Regions from separate parts of the Homo sapiens genome. Here all the other regions are linked to region 1. Evidence: promoter capture Hi-C in 16 types of primary human blood cells and fetal thymus (Javierre and others, 2016). All regions are on one chromosome and are shown on one strand. The core of a region is centred on a gene start or on the middle of the fragment in contact, and the rest is flanking DNA. Distances in the headings are between cores, read along the strand shown. Region 1 holds the start of ATL3 (atlastin GTPase 3). Region 2 holds the start of TMEM179B (transmembrane protein 179B). Region 3 holds the start of SLC3A2 (solute carrier family 3 member 2). Region 4 has its middle 11 kb from the start of SLC22A8.

Region 1 (2,817 bases), core at 125-2,624:
AGGATGAGGCAGAAGAATTGCTTGAACCCAGGAAGCGGAGGTTGCAATCAGCCGAGATCGCGCCATTGCACTCCAGCCTGGGTGACCAGAGCAAAACTCCGTCTCAAAAAATAATAATAAAACAATGTGCTGGACTACTGCAATACTGAGATCCTTCTCAGCCAAGTGTTTACAGGTGTTAGAGCGGCAACAGGAATTTCTGGAGTACAAGCTAATCTCTGTGGGAATGGAAAAAAAAAAGCACTAATTTGAATTTCAGTACCTATGTTGCAATGCTAAATTCTTGACAGGGATTAGTACTCCGTAGGTTATGCTTCTTAAATCTCCAAAAGTAAGCCAATATGTGAAATCGTACATTTTTGGTCCGTTATTCTAAGACTGACAAAACGTTCCATTGCTTCGTATTTGAATTTGAGAACTGAGACTCATTTAAAAATTCTTCACTGTTCTTTTCCTTTTTGCTCTTCGATTTCGCAAGTGAAACGGTCATTTCAACAGCACACACATTACACTAGAATAAAGCCAAGTAAAATGACAGACTAAATCAGATCCGTGAATACACGGTGACTCCTTATTTGGTTTTTAATACTTTCACTATGTTTCATGTCTTCGGGAAAGCAAAAGAACAACGTACTGTGCCAAAAGCACTAACTTACGAAAAACCAATTTAGACCAATTCTTTACAGCGTTAAGTATGGGTTGAAAACCAACTTTCCTAATACTTGTGGTCAGTGCCTCAAGGTCGTTAGGATAAAAATAAAGCTTCCAAGACACTTCGCAGCCTTCCAGCACTTCCAGAAAGGCCAAATAAACCAGCATTCACCTTCCCGCTCCATCCAGGCCCCGATTCTCCGACCAGAGAGGGCGCTGAGTGCCCGGGCACGGAGGGGCAGCGCCCTGGGGCGCCCGGCTCTGCCCAGGGCGGGGCTCGGCGGGGCCGAAGCTCCGGACGCCGCCCACGGGGACCACCGGCCCTTGGGCCGCCCAGGGGCAGCTGCAGCCCAGGGGAGGAGCTGGAGGAGCCCCCGGCGGCACCAGGGCCCGAGCCCTGACGGCGGCCGCCCCCGGCCGAAAAGTAAGGAAGGTGCCGCCCTCGCTGGACCAGCTGGGCCCGAAGAGGGGCCCCCCCACCACAAATTCGGAAACCGAGTGACCCCGGCGAGGGACGCGCGGTCCCAGCCCCGGGACGAGGAAGGGCGGCGGCGCGGGCGGGGGTTCTTTTCAGAACTACAGCAGGGAAGGCGGCGGGGGTGGCCGCGGGGCGATCCAGGGAAAATCGGCGCCTCACCTGCTCCTCTTGAGGCAGCTGCTGCCACTCGCTGAGGGGACAACATGGAGCCTCCGCCTTCAAAGCAGAAGCAGCAGGGGTGCAGAGGAGAGGGACGGGTGCGGGCGGGAACGAACCGGGCCCTGGAAGCGGGAAACGGGCGGAGCCTGGGCTCTAGAAAAAACTAGCCAGAAGGTGGGGCACGCGGAGCCGCGACGGAGCGAGCGCAGCGCGGTCTGCGTGGCCCAACGGACAGCCCGAGGCGTGGCGAGCGCAGGACGAGGCTAGGCGAGGCGGGGCGGGAAAGCGCACGCGGCAGAATCCCGCCACCGCCTGCCGCGTGTGCGCGAAGCGAGCCGCCGGGTACCTGTTGGCGGGGCGCTGAGTGCTACCGTCCTTTGGGAATTGTAGTCCCGCGCTCACTGGGTCCCGGCCAGCGGTCCTCATACTGCGCACTCATCTGGGGCGGGGCTTGGCGTGGTTCTCCGACGACTGAACTACAACTCCCAGCAGGCTGTGCGGGAAGGGGCGGGCTGGCTCGGGTCCTCCTGCGAGCTGCGGCCGGCGCCTAACGTGCAGACCAGGCCCCAGGCCGAGGCTTTATCCTGGAACCACCAGTGTGAGAGACAGCTTTGGTGTTTAACTAGGCCTGGGACCACAGGTGGGCAGAAGAGAGGCCTCAACCCTGGATGGCATGAACGTCACTGGGTCTTTAATGATTTTGACTTCATAAGGGCAGGTGGCCGTGACTTCATTACCACCTTTATTATCATCTCCCTATATTCCTGTCCCTGGCCATGGCTGATGCGCACCATCACCGCTCTGATAGCTAATGTAAGAAGTCCAGGCCGGGCGCCGTGCCTCACGCCTGTAATCCCAGCACTTTGGGAGGCCGAGGCGGGTGGATCACCTGAGGTCGTGGGCGTTCGAGACCAGCCTGACCAACATGGAGAATCCCCGTCTCTACTAAAAATACGAAATTAGCCAGGCGTAGTGGCGCACGCTTGTAATCCCAGCTAGTCCAGAGGCTGAACAGGAGAATCGCTTGAACCCAGGAGGCGGAGGTTGCAGTGAGCCGAGATCGCACCATTGCACACCAGCGTAGGCAACAGGAGCAAAACTCCATCAAAAAAAAAAAAAAAAAACTTGCACGCACATCCCAGCATTCTCTGCTCCTTTTCCCTGCATTACTTTTCTCCAAAAGACTTCATACCACTTGGCCAGGCGCGGTGGCTCACGCCTGTAATCCCAGCACTTTGGGAGGCTGAGGTGGTTGGATCACCTGAGGTCGGGAGTTCAAGACCAGCCAGGCTAACATGGTGAAACCCCATCTCTTCTAAAAATACAAAAAATTAACCAGGCGTGGTGGCAGGCGCCTGTAATCCCAGCTACTCGGGAGGCTGAGGCAGGAGAGGTTGCATTGAGTGGAGATGGCACCACTGCACTCCAGCCTGGGAGAAAGAGCAAGACTCCATCTCAAAAAAAAAAAAAAAAAAAAAGACTTCCTGCTACTATCTGACTTATGTTTTACCTTTCATTGTGTTTGTCTC
Region 2 (2,817 bases), core at 91-2,590, 880 kb before region 1:
TATCTTTATTCCCAATGCCTAGCTTAGGTATACAGTAGGTTCCAAATAAATATATGGTTGAATATGCCAATCAGGGAATTTAGGAGGATTGAGCCCTGTCTAGGATCAGAGATAAAGGTAGGTCTTTCATGGGAAAGGGTCCTTGAGAGGGAATAAGTATCAAAGACATGCTAACTGTATTCCTTCTCTTCCTTCCAGGCAGTAGAACGAGTCCTGTACCCACACCTGTCCACCTACTGGACAAACTTGCAGGCTGTGCTGGATGATTATTCAGTATCTAATGCCCAGGTCAAAGCAGATGGACACAAAGTCTATGGAGCCATTCTGGTGAGTACCGTCCCCTTCCAGCCTCCCTTCCCTGCATGAGCTTAGCAGCCAAGCAGGCTTACTTTGGAATATTTGATGGGCCCAGGTTCCTCGAATTTTTTGCCTATCTTAGTCCTTGGCTCTTACAGGTGGCGGTAGAGCGACTGCTGAAGATGAAGGCCCAGGCAGCAGAGCCCAACAGGGGTGGCCCAGGTGGCAGGGGGTGCCGGCGCCTGGACGACCTGCCATGGGACAGCCTTCTCTTTCAAGAGTCGTCCTCCGGGGGCGGTGCAGAACCCAGCTTTGGGTCCGGCCTCCCGCTGCCGCCAGGGGGCGCGGGGCCGGAGGACCCTTCTCTTTCGGTGACCCTGGCCGACATCTACCGGGAGCTCTACGCCTTCTTCGGTGACAGCTTGGCCACACGCTTTGGCACCGGCCAGCCTGCACCCACGGCTCCGCGGCCGCCCGGGGACAAGAAGGAGCCGGCGGCAGCCCCGGACTCGGTGCGGAAGATGCCGCAGCTGACGGCAAGCGCCATAGTCAGCCCGCACGGCGACGAGAGCCCCCGGGGCAGCGGCGGAGGCGGCCCCGCGTCGGCCTCTGGGCCCGCCGCCTCTGAGAGCAGGCCCTTGCCGCGCGTGCATCGGGCGCGCGGGGCACCCCGGCAGCAGGGCCCCGGGACCGGCACCCGCGACGTTTTCCAGAAGAGCCGTTTCGCCCCGCGCGGCGCCCCGCACTTTCGTTTCATCATAGCCGGGCGGCAGGCTGGGAGGCGCTGCCGCGGGCGCCTTTTCCAGACTGCCTTCCCCGCGCCGTACGGGCCTAGCCCGGCCTCGCGCTACGTGCAGAAACTGCCCATGATCGGCCGTACCAGCCGCCCCGCCCGCCGGTGGGCGCTCTCGGACTACTCGCTGTACTTGCCGCTCTGAGTCAGTGGCCCCTTCGTTCCTTGTAAATAAATCCCGCCCCCGGAAATGACGTCTCCACCTTCGTGGGTCGCGCCGGATAAGGTGGGCTTTGGGCGGGGTGCTGCTGCAGCGGCGCTTCCTGGTGGTCAGGGCGCCATGGCGCTGTCCTGGCTGCAGCGCGTCGAGCTTGCGCTCTTTGCTGCCGCCTTCCTGTGCGGGGCCGTGGCGGCCGCGGCGATGACTCGGACCCAGGTGCGGCTGCGGGGCGGGGTCAGGTAGGCGGGGGAGCTGGCCGGTCTGGACATGGCGAGGCCACTTTCGCTTTCCGACCGGGCTTGCTGCTGCTCGGAGCCGGTGGACCTGGTGAGGCACGGCTGGCGCCGGCCTGTACCTGAAATGCAGCGAGGCTAATCGCGCTTTGTGGCTCCTCCTGGCCAGGTCATACTTCGAAGTTGTCCCCTCGCCAAAGGGACGGGTCAGTAGCGTCTTAAAGCACTAGGTGGAGTCGGGTTTCGTGGCTCCTGCTGCACAGCCTTACTGTGGTTCCGAAACAGAAGTCAGTGCAGAACCTGCGTCCATCCGTTAAATCAGAAGCCATTTGTGCTGAGCTTTGTCGAGAAATAAAGCATAGTGTAGTGGAGATGATCAAGCTGCCACATGATTGTAGCACAGTGTGTTAAATGACAAAATGAGAGATGGAGAAAACGCTGACGTAAAGGTAGAAGCCAATAATTTACATCGTTTACCCCAGCCAGGTAATCTGGTTAATAAACATGGGTTCATTTAATGCCTATAAAGTAGGCACTAGTGTGCCTATTTTACACCATGAGAAAACCTCAGAGATCCGCCGGGCGCGGTGACTCACGCCTGTAATCCCAGCACTTTGGGAGGCTGAGGCAGGCGGATCACTTGAGGTCAGGAGTTCGAGACCAGCCTGGCCAACATGGCAAAACTCTGTCTCTACTAAAAATACAAAAATTAGCCGGGTGTGGTGGCTCATGCCTGTAATCCCAGCTACTTCGGAGGCTGAGGCAGGAGAATCGCTTGAACCTGGGAGGCGGAGGTTGCAGTGAGTCGAGATCGTGCCATTGCACTCCAGCCTGGGTGACGAGCGAATCTCCATCGCAAAAACAAAAACAAAAACACTGGCCGGGCCTGGTGGCTCACGCCTGTAATCCCAGCACTTTGGGAGGCCGTGGCAGGCGGATCACGAGGTCAGGAGATCAAGACCATCCTGGCCAACACGGTGAAACCCTGTCTCTACTAAAAATACAAACAATTAGCCAGGCATGGTGGCGGGTGCCTGTAGTCCCAGCTACTCAGGAGGCTGAGGCAGGAGAATGGCATGAACCCAGAAGGCAGAGCGTGCAGTGAGCCGAGATGGCGCCACTGCACTCCAGCAAAAAAAAAAAAAAAAAGCACCTCACAGATAGTTATTTGTTGAAGGATATACAAGGCCTGGGTTTACTCTAAGGTTTCTGCACAGAGACCATAACTTGTGAGGCTTCTCTGAAGCTCATTGCATTCTATATTCATTGCCTATTTTCTGATCCTTCTGGCCACTGCCGGTGTGATTCCCCAGCAGGCCCTCTCCATCAATATC
Region 3 (2,817 bases), core at 160-2,659, 790 kb before region 1:
AGTGAGATACTGTGTCATGTTGGACCATCTCAAAGACAGCTTCTGACCCCACAGTTCTCAACCTTGTTCTTACTTATTTTTAGAGACAGGGTCTCGCTCTGTCTCCTAGGCTGGTATGCAGTGGTGCCACCATGGCTCACTGCAGCCTCACAAACTCCTGGACTCAAGTGATCCTCCTGCTTTTGCTTCCCTTGAGTGTTGGCATCTCATGGGACTCCAGGGGCACATCACCAATTACAGATGATAATTTTTTTTTTTTTTGAGACGGAGTCTTGCTCTGTATCCCAGGCTGGAGTGCAGTGGCGCGATTTTGGCTCACTGCAAGCTCCGCCTCCCAGGTTCACGTCATTCTCCTGCCTCAGCCTCCTAAGTAGCTGGGACTACAGGCACCCGCCACCACGCCTGGCTGATTTTTTTTTTTTTTTTTTGCATTTTTAGTAGAGACGGGGTTTCACTGTGTTAGCCAGGATGGTCTCGGTCTCCTGACCTCTTGATCCACCTGCCTCGGCCTCCCAAAGTGCTGGTATTACAGGTGTGAGACACCACGCCTGGCCTTTTTTTTTCTTTTTTGAGACAGAGTCTCACTCTGTCACCCAGGCTGGAGTGCAGCCGCGCAATCTTGGCTCACTGCAACCTCTGCCTCTCGGGTTCAAGCGATTCTCATGCCTCACCCCTCCAAGTCTGGGACTACAGGCGTGTGCTACTATGTCCAGTTAATTTTTGTATTTTTAGTAGAGATGGGGTTTCACCATGTTGGCCAGGCTGGTCACGAACTCCTGACCTCAAGTTATCCGCCACCCTCAGCCTCCCAAAGTGCTGGGATTACAGGTGTCAGCCACCACACCTGGCCTGTTAGTTTTTTTGAGGCAGAGTCTTGCTCTATCACCCAGACTGGAGTGCAGTGGCCCATTCTTGGCTCACTGCAACCTCTACCTCCTGGGTTCAAGCGATTCTCATGCCACAGCATGAGAAGTGGGATTACAGGGATTAGTAGGTGGGATTACAGGTGTGAGCCACCACACCCAGCCAGGCCCAGATAATTTTAAAATTTATTTTTTTATTTATTTAGAAATGGAGTCTCACTATGTTGCCCCGTCTGGTCTTAAACTCCTGGCCTCAAGGAATCCTCCCTCCTTGGCCTCCTAAAGGGCTAGGTGACAGGCATGAGTCACACTGCGCCCAGCCTTGAGCTTTTGTGCTCGAGATATAGTCCATTCAGAACCTCTGGTTGGCACTTCTTATCTGGCACATGCAGGGCACCTTGGATCTCTTATTATCTTTGAGCACTGGTCTGAACCCACTTGCTTGCCTTCTCCCAGGGGCTGCCCCGTGCACCCCTTGTTCCTAGGGTGGGGATGGGGTTGGATGCCTGGGGTTGCAGAGGGGACTAGCAGAGGGTGACCCTTTTCTCTATGCTATTACTTCAGATCTTGGCTTTTGCTTTCTTCCAAATACACAGCAATCTTGGCTTCCAGCCTAGGTGGGAAAGGGAGAAAGAACCGATTTCCTCCAGCTCCTCTCTGAAAGTAGCCCAACTGGCACTGTTTAGGAACAAGGAGTTCCTGAGAGTGTTGGCACCCCACGGTGTTGATGTCCGGTAGTTCCCTGCTGTGAACCCTGTCTCTGCCCCACTTCAATCCAAGGACCCTGTGGAGGGAATTCTAGGCTTCTTCAAAGCCTCTGCAGTACCAGCTGCCTCCAAGGCCTAACATAGTGAAGTGATAGGGAGACAGGACCTTGGGGGAGTTTGGGGATAACTGTGGGAGTTCCTGCAAGGTGGGTAAGAGTCTGGCCATGGCATCTTCTGGTCTATTCCACAAAAAAGGTGGATGCCTCTGAGACCTAGCTCTGTTATGTTCATTACAGCCCTATCAGTCTCTTCTGGATGTCTGATTCCTAGCTGCCAAACATCCAGGTGCTAGCAGCTGGGGGTGGGGTAGGATAAGAAGGGGGGTGTCTACCTCAACCTTCCTGCCCAAACCATTCATTTTAAAGTACTGTGAAGAAGGCTGGATTAGTGTTAAATTCAATAAAGTTAACAAAGCAAAGTATTGTAGTGAGTACACAATAAATAGTTGCTGCATGAGGAATTTCTTGAAATGAATTCAAGATGAGTCTTGAAAAACGAGTGGGAGTAAGCCGTGCACGGAAGCAGAGGTCTAGCAGAGGTCTAGCGCCAAGTCCCAGAGGCCTGAGAGGGCAAGCCTTGGTGGGGGAAAAGGCAGAAGTTGTGACTGGCTGCCTCTGAGAGTGCAAGTAGCCATGCAAAGTTGGGAAAACCAGACGGCGGCCGGAGCCGTGAACCAGGGGCAAATGGAGGATGGTGTTGGGGTAGTCACTAGCCTGCCGGAATGGAAGAAGAGGGGCGTTTGGGGGCGGTAAGGCCTAAAGGACACTGGAGGGGCCTCGGGATTTGGGGCAGGATCACAGGCCTAGTCCACTTAAAGGTGGCTCCGTGCCAGGCCTTCCCAGAATCAGGTTGAAAAGAACTTTAGGGTTAGACAGGTTGGAGATGAGAAATTGGACCATGCAGGAAGTACTGTCGGAGGCGTGTTCCTGACTTTACTACCCTGAGCCGCCCACGGCTGGGGCAGTCCCCGAGGTTCCACCTTAAGGGGCGGGCCGGGGCGGGGCTCCGCTGCCCCTTCCCAGAGGCCGCGCCTGCTGCTGAGCAGATGCAGTAGCCGAAACTGCGCGGAGGCACAGAGGCCGGGGAGAGCGTTCTGGGTCCGAGGGTCCAGGTAGGGGTTGAGCCACCATCTGACCGCAAGCTGCGTCGTGTCGCCGGTTCTGCAGGCACCATGAGCCAGGACACCG
Region 4 (2,817 bases), core at 139-2,638, 640 kb before region 1:
TACTTTCTGCCACCTCTCCCTCACCAAGATATTACTCCATGCTCCTTTTGCCTCCAGGCCTTTGGCCTCATTGGTTACCCTGACTTGAATGCTGTTCTCCTGATTGTCTTACATTGCCAGGTCATCCTTGTCATCAAGGTCTCATCTCAAATGTCACCTTCTTTTTCTGGGGATTTCATTTCTTACCAGCCACTCCAATGTTGCCTTACCTTCTAGCCATACTCTTATCACCTCTGTCTTGTTTGATTTTCTTCATAGCACCTGTCATGATCTGAAATTGTCTTATCTCTGTGAAACTGGGTCATTTTATGGGCTGGATTTTGTAGAGTGCAAAGTAGGGTATAGTTTTTATTTTTCTTCTGCCTCCATCCTTGCACTTGCTCTGTTGCTTCTCTCTCCCCACATTGTCTTTGTCCATTTTCTGTTGCCTATAACAGAATACCACAGACTGGGTAATTTAAAAAAAATAAAAAAAGAGATTCATTTGGCTCATGGTTCTGGAGGGTGGGAAGTCCAAGAGCATGGTACTGCATCTAGTGATGGCCTTAGTGCTGCATCATAACATAGTGGCAGGCATCACATGGTGAGAGAGGGTGAGAGAGTGTGAGACACAGACAGAACTGGGGGTTGAACTTATCCTTTTACCAGGAGCCTGCTTCCGGGATAACTAACCCACTCCTCTGATAACAGCATTAACCCACTGATGAGGGCAGAGCCCTCATGACCTAATCATATCTTCAAGTTCCCACCTGTTTTTTTTTTTTTTTTTTCCAGACGGAGTTTCACTGTCATCTCCCAGGCTGGAGTGCAGTGGCACGATCTTGGCTCACTGCAACCTCCACCTCCCAGGTTCAAGCGATTCTCCTGCCTCAGCCTCTCAAGTAGCTGGGATTACAGGCGCATGCCACCAGACTCAGCTAATTGTTGTATTTTTAGTAGAGATGGGGTTTCACCATGTTGGCCAGGCTTGTCTTGAACTCCTGACCTCAGGTGATCCACCCGCCTTGGCCTCCCAAAGTGCAGGGATTACAGGTGTGAGCCACTGTGCCGGGCCCCCAGCTATTAATACCATCACAATAGCAATTAAATTTCAACATGAGTTTTGGAGGGGACATTCAAACCATAGCACCCCTCCTTGAAAATGTTTCAGCTAAGTATAGTTTACCCATTTTTTTCAGGTATTAGATCAATTTCAATTTTAGACATTAAAAGTCTGATTCTTTTAGGAGATGTACATTGAAGGATTTAAGAATGAAGAGTCATGGTGTCTGAAGCTTGCTTTCAAGTGATTTAGCAAGACCATGTATACACACATACACACAATGTTAACAAGTTTTGAATCTAGGTGGTGAATATATAGGTATTTATTATACTATTCTTTCAACTTTTCTATATGTTTGAAAATTCTTATAAAATGTTGGGCAAAAAGGAAACTGCTTTTGTCAGGTTAAGAAAATAAACCCAGTCCTATATAAATAAAAATATTTATCTTCCATCCAATATAAAGCTTCTCCTATTCAAGCTGACCAGGCCTGGCTTTCCGCAGTGGGGAAGGTTGGGGGGATGGGCAGCGGGTGTATGGCCAATGTCCTCACTCTCTCGGATTCACCTCCCCTCCCACTCCTAGCAGCTGCTTCAGCTCCTTCAGGGTCTGGGAAGGGAGGAGGGAGGAAAGGAAGAGGAGAGGGCTCCTCAGTTGTGCTCTTGTCATCCATGTGGGGTGTACTGCTGGGCTTCCCCCTCCAGGAACTCTGCCCATACCATTGTTTTTTTTGTTTTGAGATGGAGTCTCACTCTGTCACCCAGGCTGGAGTGCAGTGGTGCAGTTTTGGCTCACTGCAACTTCTGCCTTCTGGGTTCAAGCAATTCTCCTGCCTAGGCCTCCCTAGAAGCTGGGATTATGGGTGTGCACCACCACACGTGGCTAATTTTTGCAATTTAGTAGAGATGGGGTTTCACCATGTTGGCCAGGCTGGTCTTGAACTCCCGACCTCAGGTGATCTGCCCACCTCAGACTTCCAAAGTGCTGGGATTACAGGCGTGAGCCACCGTGCCCGGCCCCCACACCATTCTTGATGTGAGTGATGCCCAGCTGATCTCTCACACTCTGCCCAGTACTACCAAAAAAGCCTCTTTCTGCTGGGGTTGCCTTCTGCTCGCAGGTAGCCTCTTGGGTGAGGTCCCATTGAGGGGACAGTGTATTAGTCTGTTCTCATGCTGACAATACAGATACCCAAGACTGAGTACTTTATAAAGGAAAGGAGGTTTAATGGACTCGCAGTTCCACATGGCTGGGGAGGCCTCACAATCATGGTGGAAGATGAAGGAGAAACAAAGTCACATCTTACGTGGTGGCAGGCAAGAGAGGGTGTGTGCAGGGGAACTCCCCTTTATAAAACCATCAGATCTTGTGAGACTTATTCACTATCATGAAATCACTATCATGGGAAATGCCCACCCCCATGATTCAGTTACCCCCTACTGGGTCTCTCCCATGACACGTGGGAATTATGGGAGCTACAATTCAAGATTTGGGTGGGGATAGAGCAAAACCGTATCATTCCACTCCTGGCCCCTCCCAAATTTCATGTCCTCACATTTCAAAACCAATCATCCCTTCCCAACAGTCCCCCAAAGTCTTAACTCATTCCAACATTAACTCAAAAGTCCATAGTCCAAAGTCTCATCTGAGACAAGGCAAGTCCCTTCTGCCTATGAGCCTGTAAAATCAAAAGCAAGTTAGTTATTTCCTAGATAACAGTGGGGGTACCGGAATTGGGTATATACACCCATTCCAAATGGGGGGAACTGGCCAGA

Evidence for each region. Contacts are between HindIII fragments. The CHiCAGO score rates a contact against its expected background, and 5 or more counts as called.
Region 2: a contact is called between the fragment with the promoter of TMEM179B here and the fragment with the promoter of ATL3 in region 1, in 16 of 17 cell types (erythroblasts, naive CD8 T cells, neutrophils and 13 more). The highest score is 24.6, in erythroblasts.
Region 3: a fragment that was not itself captured here is called in contact with the fragment with the promoter of ATL3 in region 1 in 2 of 17 cell types (megakaryocytes and M1 macrophages); the score reaches 6.5 in megakaryocytes.
Region 4: a contact is called between a fragment that was not itself captured here and the fragment with the promoter of ATL3 in region 1, in 1 of 17 cell types (megakaryocytes). The highest score is 6.0, in megakaryocytes.

The regions. Positions count from the first base shown.
Region 1 is chr11:63,670,002-63,672,818 of GRCh38, forward strand. It overlaps ATL3 (atlastin GTPase 3), which reads right to left and starts at 1,375. Exons shown (of 13, transcript NM_015459.5): 1 at 1,289-1,375. The coding sequence starts at 1,334. RefSeq lists enhancers at 740-1,241, 1,242-1,741, 1,782-1,891 and silencers at 902-1,161, 1,192-1,251, 1,572-1,691. The HindIII fragment of the contact is 2,416 bases long and covers 761-2,817 here.
Region 2 is chr11:62,786,062-62,788,878 of GRCh38, forward strand. It overlaps TMEM179B (transmembrane protein 179B), which reads left to right and starts at 1,341. Exons shown (of 5, transcript NM_199337.3): 1 at 1,341-1,466. The coding sequence starts at 1,371. TAF6L (TATA-box binding protein associated factor 6 like) reads left to right here. Exons shown (of 11, transcript NM_006473.4): 10 at 199-327; 11 at 456-1,281. The coding sequence ends at 1,235. It also overlaps a transcript of TMEM223 not described here. RefSeq lists an enhancer at 412-611 and a silencer at 862-971. The HindIII fragment of the contact is 7,473 bases long and covers 1-2,817 here.
Region 3 is chr11:62,878,223-62,881,039 of GRCh38, forward strand. SLC3A2 (solute carrier family 3 member 2) reads left to right here and starts at 2,674. Exons shown (of 9, transcript NM_001013251.3): 1 at 2,674-2,817. The coding sequence starts at 2,802. RefSeq lists enhancers at 1,996-2,045, 2,415-2,817, 2,696-2,817. The HindIII fragment of the contact is 6,323 bases long and covers 1-2,817 here.
Region 4 is chr11:63,025,131-63,027,947 of GRCh38, forward strand. No RefSeq gene overlaps it. Among named protein-coding and RNA genes, the nearest start is that of SLC22A8, 11 kb to the left of the region's middle. The HindIII fragment of the contact is 233 bases long and covers 1,273-1,505 here.